Regions from separate parts of the Homo sapiens genome. Here all the other regions are linked to region 2. Evidence: promoter capture Hi-C in 16 types of primary human blood cells and fetal thymus (Javierre and others, 2016). All regions are on one chromosome and are shown on one strand. Each heading gives the region's core, a stretch centred on a gene start or on the middle of the fragment in contact. The rest is flanking DNA. Distances are from core to core; before and after follow the strand shown.

Region 1 (3,664 bases), core at 180-2,679, about 22 Mb after region 2:
GTTTCACGGCTTGGAAAAAGCAGCATTCTAGCTGAATGCATATGATAACAACACAATTTTAAAATGAGGAGGAACTGACTCTAATGCAAAATATAGTTATGGACCAGATCTTTAAATTTAAATAAACCAAACAGCTTTCAACAGTATTTATTGTTAAAAAGGCTAGGCTAACTATGTCTATTCCTTCGAGGCCAAGACTTCTGTGTTAGAAACCCTGACTCTCCTACTCACCAGCTCCACGGAGACCGTGAGGCAGGGAAAGTGTTTATTAGTCAGTTTGATTTTCAAAGCCCTGGCATTCTGGGCAGTCTTCAAGGCTCGAGATAAGTTTTCCGATGTTAGCTCTAAATAAATCTCATTGTTTTCTGCAGAGACACCCTCCATTTGAAATTCGTTGAAGAAGTTCTCCTAAGGGAAAAAAAATGAGGGATGAGGGAGGGTATATGTGATCTTTCCAGTGACAATCTGCAGAGTGTGCAGGCCTCTCAGAAGCTTTTGCTCACCTGTTCCAGCTCACACCACATGCTCACTCCTCCATTAGCCAGCTTGTCACAAAGGATGAAGTTAAGCTTATCAGGGCTGATGCGGAGGGTGCAGGTTTTGGCAAGCTTGGCTATCATGTTACTGATTCCTAAAGCAGGGGTTAAAATAAGGAATTACTAAAATGCACATTATGTATCCTAGAGACCAACTTATTTTGCAGAATTTCTTGTTCATCAACTTCTCGGTGGAAAAATAACCACTTAACGTTGGTATCACACTGGAAAGTACTTTAATACCCCTGATGTCACGCAATTCTCCCAACAAACTAGGGGAGATGTACAGCACACATCATCAGTGTTCAAATAAGAAAACAGGCACCTACCAGTCATTCATTCATTCAACATGGATTTATTGACTACTAGGTACTGCAATACACAGTTAAATGCAAGGTTAGGCACTGTCAGGGTGGAGGGACGAATGGGGCCTTGAAGGTATGTCAATGCCTGATAAAGCCGTCTATGGGAGCAGTGGCCGCTTTTTTTTAAAGCCACGTGATCGGAATCAAGTTTCAGAAACGTCCCTTGAAAGCCGCCTTCATCCCCACAAGTGCCCTCCGACCCGCCCCGCGCCCTCCCGGCCCCACCCTCCCGCGGCCTACACCAGCACCCCCATCCCGGCCCCATCCTCCCGCGGCCCCTTCCGGCGCCCATCCCCGTTCTGATCCTCCTGCGCGGTCCCCACCGCGCGCTCACTGCTTCCTTCCGTTCCTCCCTCGCTCCTCTCCGGCCTCCCTGCTCACGTGTGAAGTGGTTCAGACAGGCCCCGTCCACGATCTTGGCCCGAAACTTCATGGCCGCGGATGGCGCAGCCGCGGCGGGCCTCTGTGGGTAACAGAAAAGCGTCGCGCCCTGAGTGTCCCCGCCCGGAAACACGGCAGCGCGAACAGTGGTTCCGCCCGGCTCGGGCTACGCGACTCTTACCAGGGTTATCTCCGGGCCACGCCCCGGAGGAGGTGGGGCTAGGGGGTCACGCCCTAGAGGAGGTGGGGTCACGGGTCAAGGATCACAGGTCACGCCCCGGGGGAGGTGGGGGTCCCAGTCTCCGGGTATGCCTCCGCGCTGCCGGGTAATGGTGGGATCTACTTTTAGTGAGGCGGAGGCTTCAAGCCCCAGATTCGGGGAGGTTGTTCTGAGAATTCACGTTTTGAAAGAATTTTGTGACACCTATTTCAAGTGTTATTTTAAAATATCCAAATAAAATTAATCGTTTATAAAGGTTAAACAATATTATCTTAAATATACCTAAGGTAGAGCAGCTTTAAACCCTCCAGCCTCAGATGACGGTACTGGTACTTTGGTATTGAAGCATCTTGGTGGATTAAGGTTCTGAAAATTGTTTCAAATGACTTCTAAAAAAATTGAACATATTACTGGCTAGTTGGTAAAGTCGGGAAGCTTAAAGAACACTGACGTTAAGTGATAATTCTGCAGTTTGCCTCAAGACGAACTTTATTACATCCGATAAAATTCTTATTAGCATAAATAATGTCATTAGGATTTTTTTTAAAGGAAAAATTTTAAAGGGGGAAATGAAGCAACAATTGTATCTAATTTGGTTTTTCAAAGACTAAAGATTATCTGTGTTAACAATTGTTATTTTTAATGTCCTTTGCAAATAGACTAGAACCTTGTCTTTAACTTGACACATAGAATCAAGATAATGATAATGCAGATGATGATGATGATGATTTTGAGACGGAGTCTGGCTCTGTCGCCCTGGCTGGAGTGCAATGGCGTGATCTTGGCCCACTGCAACCTCCACCTCCCGGGTTCGAGGGATTCTCCTGCCTCAGCTTCCCAAGTAGTTGGGATTACAGGCACAAGCTACCATGCCCGGCTAATTTTTGTATTATTAGTAGAGACGGGGTTTCGCCATGTTGGCCAGGCTGGTCTCGAACTCCTGACCTCAGGTGATCTGCCCACCTCGGCCTCCCAAAGTGCTGGGATTATAGGCGTGAGCCACCGCGCCAGGCCCAGATAATTTTCAAAGACACATGCACACATATGTTTATTGTGGCACTATTCACAATAGCAAAGACTTGGAACCATCCCAAATGTCCATCAATAATAGACTGGATAAGGAAAATGTGGCACATATACACCATGGAATACTATGCAGCCATAAAAAAGGATGAGTTCATGTCCTTTGCAGGGACATGGATGAAGCTGGAAACCATCATTCTCAGCAAAATATCACAAGGACAGAAAACCAAACACCGCATGTTCTCACTCATAAGTGGGAGTTGAACAATGAGAACACATGGACACAGGGAGGGGAATATCACACACTGGGGCCTGTTGGGGGGTGGAGGCCTGGGGGAGGGATAGCGTTAGGAGAAATACCTAATGTAAATGATGAGTTGATGGGTGCAGCACACCAACATGGCACATGCATACCTATGTAACAAATCTGCACGTTGTGCACATGTACCCTAGAACTTAAAGTGTAATAATAATAAAAAGGTGCAAAATACAAAAATTGCAGTTTTTGCCTATTTTAAGACTATAACATGAAGCAAAATTCTAATCTTCATTGTCATATGCGAGTGTTTGCCAAACCAAACTTAATAGATCACTTTCAAAGTTATGCCAACAGGCAGGGCAGGATGGCTCTCTCCTGTAATCCCAGCATTCTGGGAGGCCGAGGCGGGTGGATCATCTGAGGTCAGGAGTCTGAGATCAGCCTGGCCAACATGATGAAACCCCGTCTCTACTAAAAATACAAAAATTAGCCCGGCGTGATAGCTTGTGCCTGTAATCCCAACTACTCAGGAATCTGAGGCAGGAGAATCACTTGAACCCAGGAGGCGGAGATTTCAGTGAACAGAGGTCTGCCACTGCACTCCAGCCTGGGCGACAGAGCGAGACTCCGTCTCAAAAAAAAAAAAAAATGTTGGCATAACTCTTTTTTTTTTTGGAGACGGAATCTCGCTCTGTCGCCCAGGCTGGAGTGCAGTGGCGCAATCTCGGCTCACTGCAAGTTCCGCCTCCCGGGTTCACGCCATTCTCCTACCTCAGCCTCCCGAGTAGCTGGGACTACAGGCGCCCGCCACCACGCCCGGCTAATTTTTTGTATTTTTAGTAGAGACGGGGTTTCACCGTGTTAGCCAGGATGGTCTCGA
Region 2 (3,562 bases), core at 1,063-3,562:
GTTTAATTTTTGGTGGACATGTCTATATTTGATATATGACAATACAGAATATGAATTACTCAGCTTAACCATATGTACAATAAAATACATTCACGTGGCATAATCTCTAAGATAACAATTACTGAAAGCTGAAGCTTACTTGATTGGCCATGTGGCAAGCGACAGGCACAAAACAATTTTCCAAGTCAATAGGAAAAACCTCAGAGCTGAAATCTTTATATGCTGTACTACACAGCTGTATTCTGGGCACTTATGAATGTTAAGGAAACCTGTCTTAAAAGTTAACTAGGTTAAAAAACCTCAAACGAGAGAAAGTGATATCCAGGACCAACTGCTACAAACGCATAATGCAAACTAAAAAGTCACACGTAATTTTCAATCAATTATTTTTTGTTCCTAGCAAGCAGCATTAATTGCTGCTCTCATCCCAGTTCTACGGAGCTCTCCCTCCATTCGCATGCTCCCAACTCCTAAAAAGTAGTGGTAAAACCCAGTTCAGATTTTTTTCCTGTAGTTTTCATGACTCGTAAAAATTAAAGAAAAAATTAACTGAAATGATCAAACTAGCTCCTATGAGACACAAAGCAGTCTTTTGAAATGGTTACTTGTCACGATAGTTATTTTCATTTTTTCAGCTAGTTTTTATTCTTAATTGTCGTCAGCACATAGGTTATCTCTAAACTGAAATTACGGATAATGTACATTTATAACAAGTTTTACAAATCACTAACAAAAAGCAAAAACTCATTACTTACCTCACAATTTATCCAAACTTACCCGATGTCCACTATCGATTTTAAACAATGTTATTTTATAAACGTGCTTAGGGTCAAAGAAAATAACCAGGTAGACCCCCTTCGCTTGAGACCTTATGCTTATCAATGTAATGTTCAACCAAGATTGCAAACAAAATGAGAAAAGTAACAAAGTTCAAATACAGAGCGGCCCAGGCCCAAAACAGTTTTGCACATCAATCCATACGCATTACAGGAAGGAGCCTCTGAAGCCATGTTTTAATCGAAGTATAACTAAGGACAAAATCGTTATTTCACTTTCCTCGTAATCATCTATAAAGGTCCATGGATCTGTCCCGTAAGGGTTAAACTTCTCAGTAACAACATTACTTAAAATGAGTCAGCTCTACAACTTAAACGGAATCCTTAAGAACAGTAAAGGATTCTGACGCGAATATCCCTCCCCCGCCCAGAAAACCACCTTCGTCCCTGCCCCTCGTGGCCGATGGCTTCCAATTTATGTTTATTTTGCCGCGGTTCATCTGTCGTTTTACTGACTGCAGACCCAGATAAAACCGTTACTCAAAGGAAAAAAAAGACAGGAAAAACATAAAATGGTTTCTTTGTCCTACGGCTCGCATTGAACCCGGCCCGACGCCCTGGGTGGTGATATCTTCTCTGAAACCGGGCCCGCAAACCCGGAGCACCCCCCCTCCCCGCTCTTCGGTGTGGCTTCCGAACGCAATGGCGCCATTTCATCGAGGGGAAGGCTGAGCGCCTTTAATGAGGTGCGCAGGACTCTAAAGATCCAAGCTCACAAAACACTCCAAATCCACCTCGAAACGATATGAAAACAGCCCGAGAAGAAAAAAAAATAGTTAACCACTTCTACTTCTTGATAGAGAAAGCACACTAAGAAAATAAAAGAGTTATAAGGAAAACGCTGAGAGGAAGGCGAGCCATGAAAATGGCGGCCGCCAAATCCGGTTCCCGGGAGAGAGGGGGAGGGGAAGCTCCGCAGCCTCGCTCACGAGGACCTGCTGCCCGCCGAAACGCTCGCCGAGGAGACGCCGTGGCCCCCGAAGCAGCGTGCTTTAGAAAGGGAATAAGAATTCCCGCCTCCGCGCCCCACTTTCACCCCAGCGGGGCAGCGTCCGCCATGTGAAAGCTCCCCATCCCCCACCCCCAGTGAAGGGAAATGGCGCCGGGAGGCTGAGGGTGGGGAAGCTGTTTGTACGCTCAGGCCTCCGCTCAAGACCCCGTTCATAAACCTTAAGCCCCACTGCTACTGAATTGGTCCGATTTCCTGCCTCTCTCCCACGGAGGCGGCTGGCCGACTTCCACTGAGGCGCCAACGGCCTCGCCATGCCCTTTTCAATAACTCATTGATTTCAAACCCGTTACCTCCATCGCGGACTCAGTCGCTTCAGCCCGATTTCCCGCAGCCGAGCGAGATGAGAGAGATCTCCGCGGACGAACACGAACCGGACTCGTCCTGGCGCTGTAGTGAGAACTGCCGCTGCTCGAGAAACAACTCTGCGAGGAGCACCTCCGCACGGGACCCGGCGCTGCTGCTACTGCCGCTAGAGCCGCTGCCGCCGCTTTTCTAGAACCTTCCCCCCCACTAACGCGTCTTCCGCTACGTCAGGCCGTCGCGTAAACGCCCTATCCGCCGCCAATGGCGGGAAGGCTCTACGCCCCACCTTACGCCAAATGCGTACTCCTCCCACCCTTGCGGCCAGAGACAGTACCCGACGTTACTTCCGTAAATGCGCTCAATGAATTGCGGAAGGCTAGAGTCCTGCTAGTTACTACCTCTTGGAATAGGGTCCCGCCCCCTGCCTTGGCGCAAGGCAGGTGAGAAACGGTCGCGCAGTTTGAAATTAACGCCGACGGGAGGGGCTTAATCCGCAGCCTGGAGATCCAGCCCCCTCAACCCGGGAGGTGGTCCCTGCAGTTACGCCAATGATAACCCCCGCCAGAAAAATCTTAGTAGCCTTCCCTTTTTGTTTTCCGTGCCCCAACTCGGCGGATTGACTCGGCCCCTTCCGGAAACACCCGAATCAACTTCTAGTCAAATTATTGTTCACGCCGCAATGACCCACCCCTGGCCCGCGTCTGTGGAACTGACCCCTGGTGTACAGGAGAGTTCGCTGCTGAAAGTGGTCCCAAAGGGGTACTAGTTTTTAAGCTCCCAACTCCCCCTCCCCCAGCGTCTGGAGGATTCCACACCCTCGCACCGCAGGGGCGAGGAAGTGGGCGGAGTCCGGTTTTGGCGCCAGCCGCTGAGGCTGCCAAGCAGAAAAGCCACCGCTGAGGAGACTCCGGTCACTGTCCTCGCCCCGCCTCCCCCTTCCCTCCCCTTGGGGACCACCGGGCGCCACGCCGCGAACGGTAAGTGCCGCGGTCGTCGGCGCCTCCGCCCTCCCCCTAGGGCCCCAATTCCCAGCGGGCGCGGCGCGCGGCCCCTCCCCCCGCCGGGCGCGCGCCCGCTGCCCCGCCCTTCGTGGCCGCCCGGCGTGGGCGGTGCCACCCCTCCCCCCGGCGGCCCCGCGCGCAGCTCCCGGCTCCCTCCCCCTTCGGATGTGGCTTGAGCTGTAGGCGCGGAGGGCCGGAGACGCTGCAGACCCGCGACCCGGAGCAGCTCGGAGGCGGTGAAGTCGGTGGCTTTCCTTCTCTCTAGCTCTCGCTCGCTGGTGGTGCTTCAGATGCCACACGCGTCCCGGGGGCCCGGTTCTCCGCTCCCCTCCCCTCCCCTTCTCGCCGGACCCCGCGCCGGGAGCTGCGGGAAGGAGTGGAGGGTCGGGCGGTGGCCTCGCGGCTGGCCT
Region 3 (4,006 bases), core at 214-2,713, about 24 Mb after region 2:
TGGCTCCTGCTCGGGTGGAGCCCGGCTAATTAGAGTGAGGGGCTCCCCGTAGGGCGAAGGGGTGCGCTGTCAGATGTGGCATTCCCGTTTTACGGAGACACACGGTGTCTTACACGCCAGGGAGAGGTCTGAGACGCAAAGAGCCGTCGAGCGGGCTGCGGGATTGCTTCGCTGTCACCTCCGCCTGCAGCCACCCTTCCGCACGCACTTGTGTGTGCACCCAGGCCAACATGGAAGGCGCCATCCTAACTTCTGCCGTGAGCAGGTGGGAGGGAAGAGAGACGAGAGGTATTCCATTGGTTGTCTGGGAAAATGAATTGCACCTTCCCCTCCCTTGCGGAGGATCAACTTTTCCCACCCCCTCGGGTGGGCACTCGCATCCTGGGGCCGGAGCCTGAACCCGGGAGCCAAGGGGCCCCAGTTCCAGGGACGTGAAGCTGAGCGTACAGCGGGCGCTCCCAGACACTGGGGAAAGTGCTTTACGATGTCCCGAGTCCCTCCAGTCTCGCCAGCGGGGCGAGCGTGAGGGTGCCCCGACCGACCAGCGGCCCCGGGTGCAGGGTGGCGGGCCCGGCGGCGCGCGTCCCCCTCCCCCTCCTGGCGGCCCGCACGTGTCGCCCGCGCCGCGCCCCCACGGGTTACGCGCGGGTCCCGCAGCGCCGCGGCCGAGCCGGGCTGCCCGGCCCGCGGACACAGCGCCGGCCGCCGCATCCCGTGCGGGGCCGCGGCGCGATGCTGCGCTGGAATGAGGAAGCGCGGCGGCGAGGGGAGGGCCCGGGCGCGGTGCGCGCGGGGGTGGCGGCGGCGCGCCGAGCGGGCCCGGCGCGGGCGAGCGGGCTGCAGCCGGCGGCGGCGCCAGCAGGTACGGCCCGCACCCGCCGCCGCCCCGGCGGCCTTTGGGGGCTGAGCCGGAGCCCGGCGCGATTGCAAAGTTTTCGTGCGCGGCCCCTCTGGCCCGGAGTTGCGGCTGAGACGCGCGCCGCGCGAGCCGGGGGACTCGGCGACGGGGCGGGGACGGGACGACGCACCCTCTCCGTGTCCCGCTCTGCGCCCTTCTGCGCGCCCCGCTCCCTGTACCGGAGCAGCGATCCGGGAGGCGGCCGAGAGGTGCGCGCGGGGCCGAGCCGGCTGCGGGGCAGGTCGAGCAGGGACCGCCAGCGTGCGTCACCCCAAAGTTTGCGGGGTGGCAGGGCGCGCGCTCTGGCCACCCGCCGCTCTGGGCGGCAGCTGGTGGCAACGCAAGGGCGCGGCGGGGGCGGCCGGCGCGGAGGGGGCCAGGTACGGGGCCCGCGGGCGGCGCTGTGCGCGCGGGGCAGCCGGTCGGCCGGGAGCGCGAAAGCCTGGTCTGAGCCGGCTGGGGGCGGGGAGTGTGGCGGAGAAATGGGGAACAATGCGAGTGAGCAACTTCAGGAAGTCATTGTGAAAGAAAGCTGGGAAGAGCTCCGCGGCCAAGTTAGCAGGACACTCTAACAAGTGACTGCGCGGCCCGCGCCCGGGGCGGTGACTGCGGCAAGCCCCCTGGGTCCCCGCGCGGCGCATCCCAGCCTGGGCGGGACGCTCGGCCGCGGCGAGGCGGGCAAGCCTGGCAGGGCAGAGGGAGCCCCGGCTCCGAGGTTGCTCTTCGCACCCGAGGATCAGTCTTGGCCCCAAAGCGCGACGCACAAATCCACGTGAGTGTTTTCAAATTGAATTTCAATAGGAAAACTTGGGGTAACTGGTGAATTTAAAAAAAAAAAAACACAGTAAAGAAAAGCGGTAAGGTTGGTAGACCCTGGTGTCGCTCAGGTCCGCCTCTCTTTTCTGAGGACAGTGAGAGAGTTCACTTCTGTCAAGCGTCTGTTGCTCTGCACTGTGCCAGCAGGTGCAGGACCAGGCCGACATGGGACACTTCTGAGCAGCCCCGCTGTCACCAGGAGAGGAGTTCTAGCTCCCAACCATATTTAAATTTATGTAGACCTACATATACCCACGGAAGTCAGCCTTTATAAAGTCGTGTGTAAAGAGTTTTCCTTATATTTGAGCCGGGAGCTTTCTTTTTATACTATAAATATGATGAGATCGAGTCTGAACTTAATTTCTGCAAGAGAGGAATTATCCCGGCTTTGAAAAGTTAGTCCTTTTGCTGACCGCAGGTTTGACGCTCAAGTCACCAAACCTTCTCAGGAAAACCCTTAGTAATATTAAGGCATCAGGTTACTTGCGGTTATATTTGAAATGTATTTTAAATATTTGTCAAGCATCGCTGCTGATGCCTAAGGAACCTCGTGAGGGCTTGTTTTTCCTTCTAATTTGGAGGCATCTAATGACCGAAAACCGTAGCGATTCCATAGGGTCTGACCAGGCACAGCTTTCAAATGCAGCTTCCCTCTCTCTAGGGACTGCAGCCCACCCAGACTGAATTTCAATGCGGTGCGCTTTGCTTAGGTTACCCACTCACAATTTCCCACTGCGCCGCAGGCAGTATATTTCAGCTTTGAGATACCTTGTTTTAAAATTCCAGACAAAATGGTGTTGAGGAAATGTCTCCTTACTAGTCCCATCAACTTCTGTTAAAAGAGGAAAATTTATGGAATTTGAAAATACTGCGTATGATATTTAAACTTTCATAGACATTCAAATGCTTTTAAGGCCAGGTTCAATTTGGTTATGAGTCGAGGGGTGGGGGGGACCCACATAGAAATGTCCTGGGTCCTCTTGAGTTTATTTCTTTGTTTGAAGATGTTTGTTCAATGAGTTTTATTGTACTCATCTTTTATATGGAATTTTAAAAAGTAACAATTTCAGTATTATTTATATTAGAATGTGTCAGAATTATTTCCGTGACAAATCAGATCATTTGGGCTATGGCTTAAAATGTACACGAGGCAAATATTCATGACAAGAAGATTCACCTTCTTACGCTGGCATCTTGTAAAATGCAGAACAAGTTAAAGAAATAATGTGTACACATACAAATAATGATGTCACATTAAAAATACTACACTATTCTTGCTTGATGGAATGTATCTGATTTCCAATTTCACCATGAACATATTTCATACATTTTTTACATGAAAAAAAACGTGACTCTTAAGTCTCACAGTCAATCAGAGCTGGTGACCAGAACATTTTATTGAACTAAATGGTCATGTTTTCTTCCCCTTTTGTTTCACGGTGAGAGTTGAAGGAAGGAGTTTAGAAACTCTCCAGTACTTGTTTAATTCATCAGTGTTCTAATTAGAGTGGTACCTCTTGGAAAACTACACACCCCCCTAATGCAGAAACATCATAGCAATAATCACCCACCCTCAGGGTCTCCAGGAGACCACAAGGGCTGCAGATAAAAGTCTGGATGTGTTAGGTTTGACCCTTTCGAAGAGTTTTACACAGGCTCCTAAAGAGAAGATCAGCTGTGGCCGTTTGTAGCCATTTCCTTTGTCGAAAAACTAAGATCGCAGTGAATGTATTAGCCAAGAGGTCTAAAGCCCTGTTGTACTGCAGGCCACTGTCTTCCTTGTTTGACTAGAGACTTGGAGTTTGAGAACAGTGGTTCTTTGGTTTGGATACATTTTTTGTTCTTGATTTGGATGTGTGTGTTTCATGCGTGGTTAATATAGCATATTTTCAATATAAATGTCAAAAATTTTGAAATAGGAAAGAACTCTCTATATATTAATGTACTTATACACACACTTCAAGATTATGCATTTATTAACAGATACATGAAATAAATTCCATGTGCATATGCACATATGCACACAGAGCGTGCACACACACAGCATGCACACAGCGTGGAGTGAGAGGCATGGGGCAGTGTGGAAGAGTTTTAACATCAAACAGACCTGAAATGAGTATTAAAGGCCCCCTTTATTTTTAAACTTTTACTAAAACAAGATGGATTTCCCTATGTTATATAATGGTGAATTTTAGGCATAAATAACGTTTTTTGAGTGTTGCATAATTGTACGTATTAATGTAATGTAACTGTGGTTAACGAAGAATTCATCAAGGATATCACTGTTTTGTG

What was found. The method cuts DNA at HindIII sites, captures the fragments that hold promoters and counts their contacts. A CHiCAGO score of 5 or more calls a contact.
Region 1: a contact is called between the fragment with the promoter of HUS1 here and the fragment with the promoter of HNRNPA2B1 in region 2, in 1 of 17 cell types (total CD8 T cells). The highest score is 8.8, in total CD8 T cells.
Region 3: the fragment with the promoter of IKZF1 here is called in contact with the fragment with the promoter of HNRNPA2B1 in region 2 in 2 of 17 cell types (fetal thymus and activated CD4 T cells); the score reaches 12.2 in fetal thymus.

Annotation. Positions count from the first base shown.
Region 1 is chr7:47,978,186-47,981,849 of GRCh38, forward strand. It overlaps HUS1 (HUS1 checkpoint clamp component), which reads right to left and starts at 1,430. Exons shown (of 8, transcript NM_004507.4): 1 at 1,283-1,430; 2 at 504-631; 3 at 232-408. The coding sequence starts at 1,334. RefSeq lists silencers at 951-1,000, 1,081-1,140 and an enhancer at 1,211-1,500. The HindIII fragment of the contact is 1,329 bases long and covers 607-1,935 here.
Region 2 is chr7:26,198,434-26,201,995 of GRCh38, forward strand. HNRNPA2B1 (heterogeneous nuclear ribonucleoprotein A2/B1) reads right to left here and starts at 2,313. Exons shown (of 11, transcript NM_002137.4): 1 at 2,139-2,313. The coding sequence starts at 2,144. CBX3 (chromobox 3) reads left to right here and starts at 3,312. Exons shown (of 6, transcript NM_016587.4): 1 at 3,312-3,393. RefSeq lists enhancers at 755-1,728, 1,637-1,756, 1,729-2,701, 1,867-2,256 and a silencer at 3,197-3,562. The HindIII fragment of the contact is 8,290 bases long and covers 133-3,562 here.
Region 3 is chr7:50,303,253-50,307,258 of GRCh38, forward strand. It overlaps IKZF1 (IKAROS family zinc finger 1), which reads left to right and starts at 1,464. Exons shown (of 8, transcript NM_006060.6): 1 at 1,464-1,670. RefSeq lists a silencer at 777-1,576. The HindIII fragment of the contact is 6,071 bases long and covers 1-4,006 here.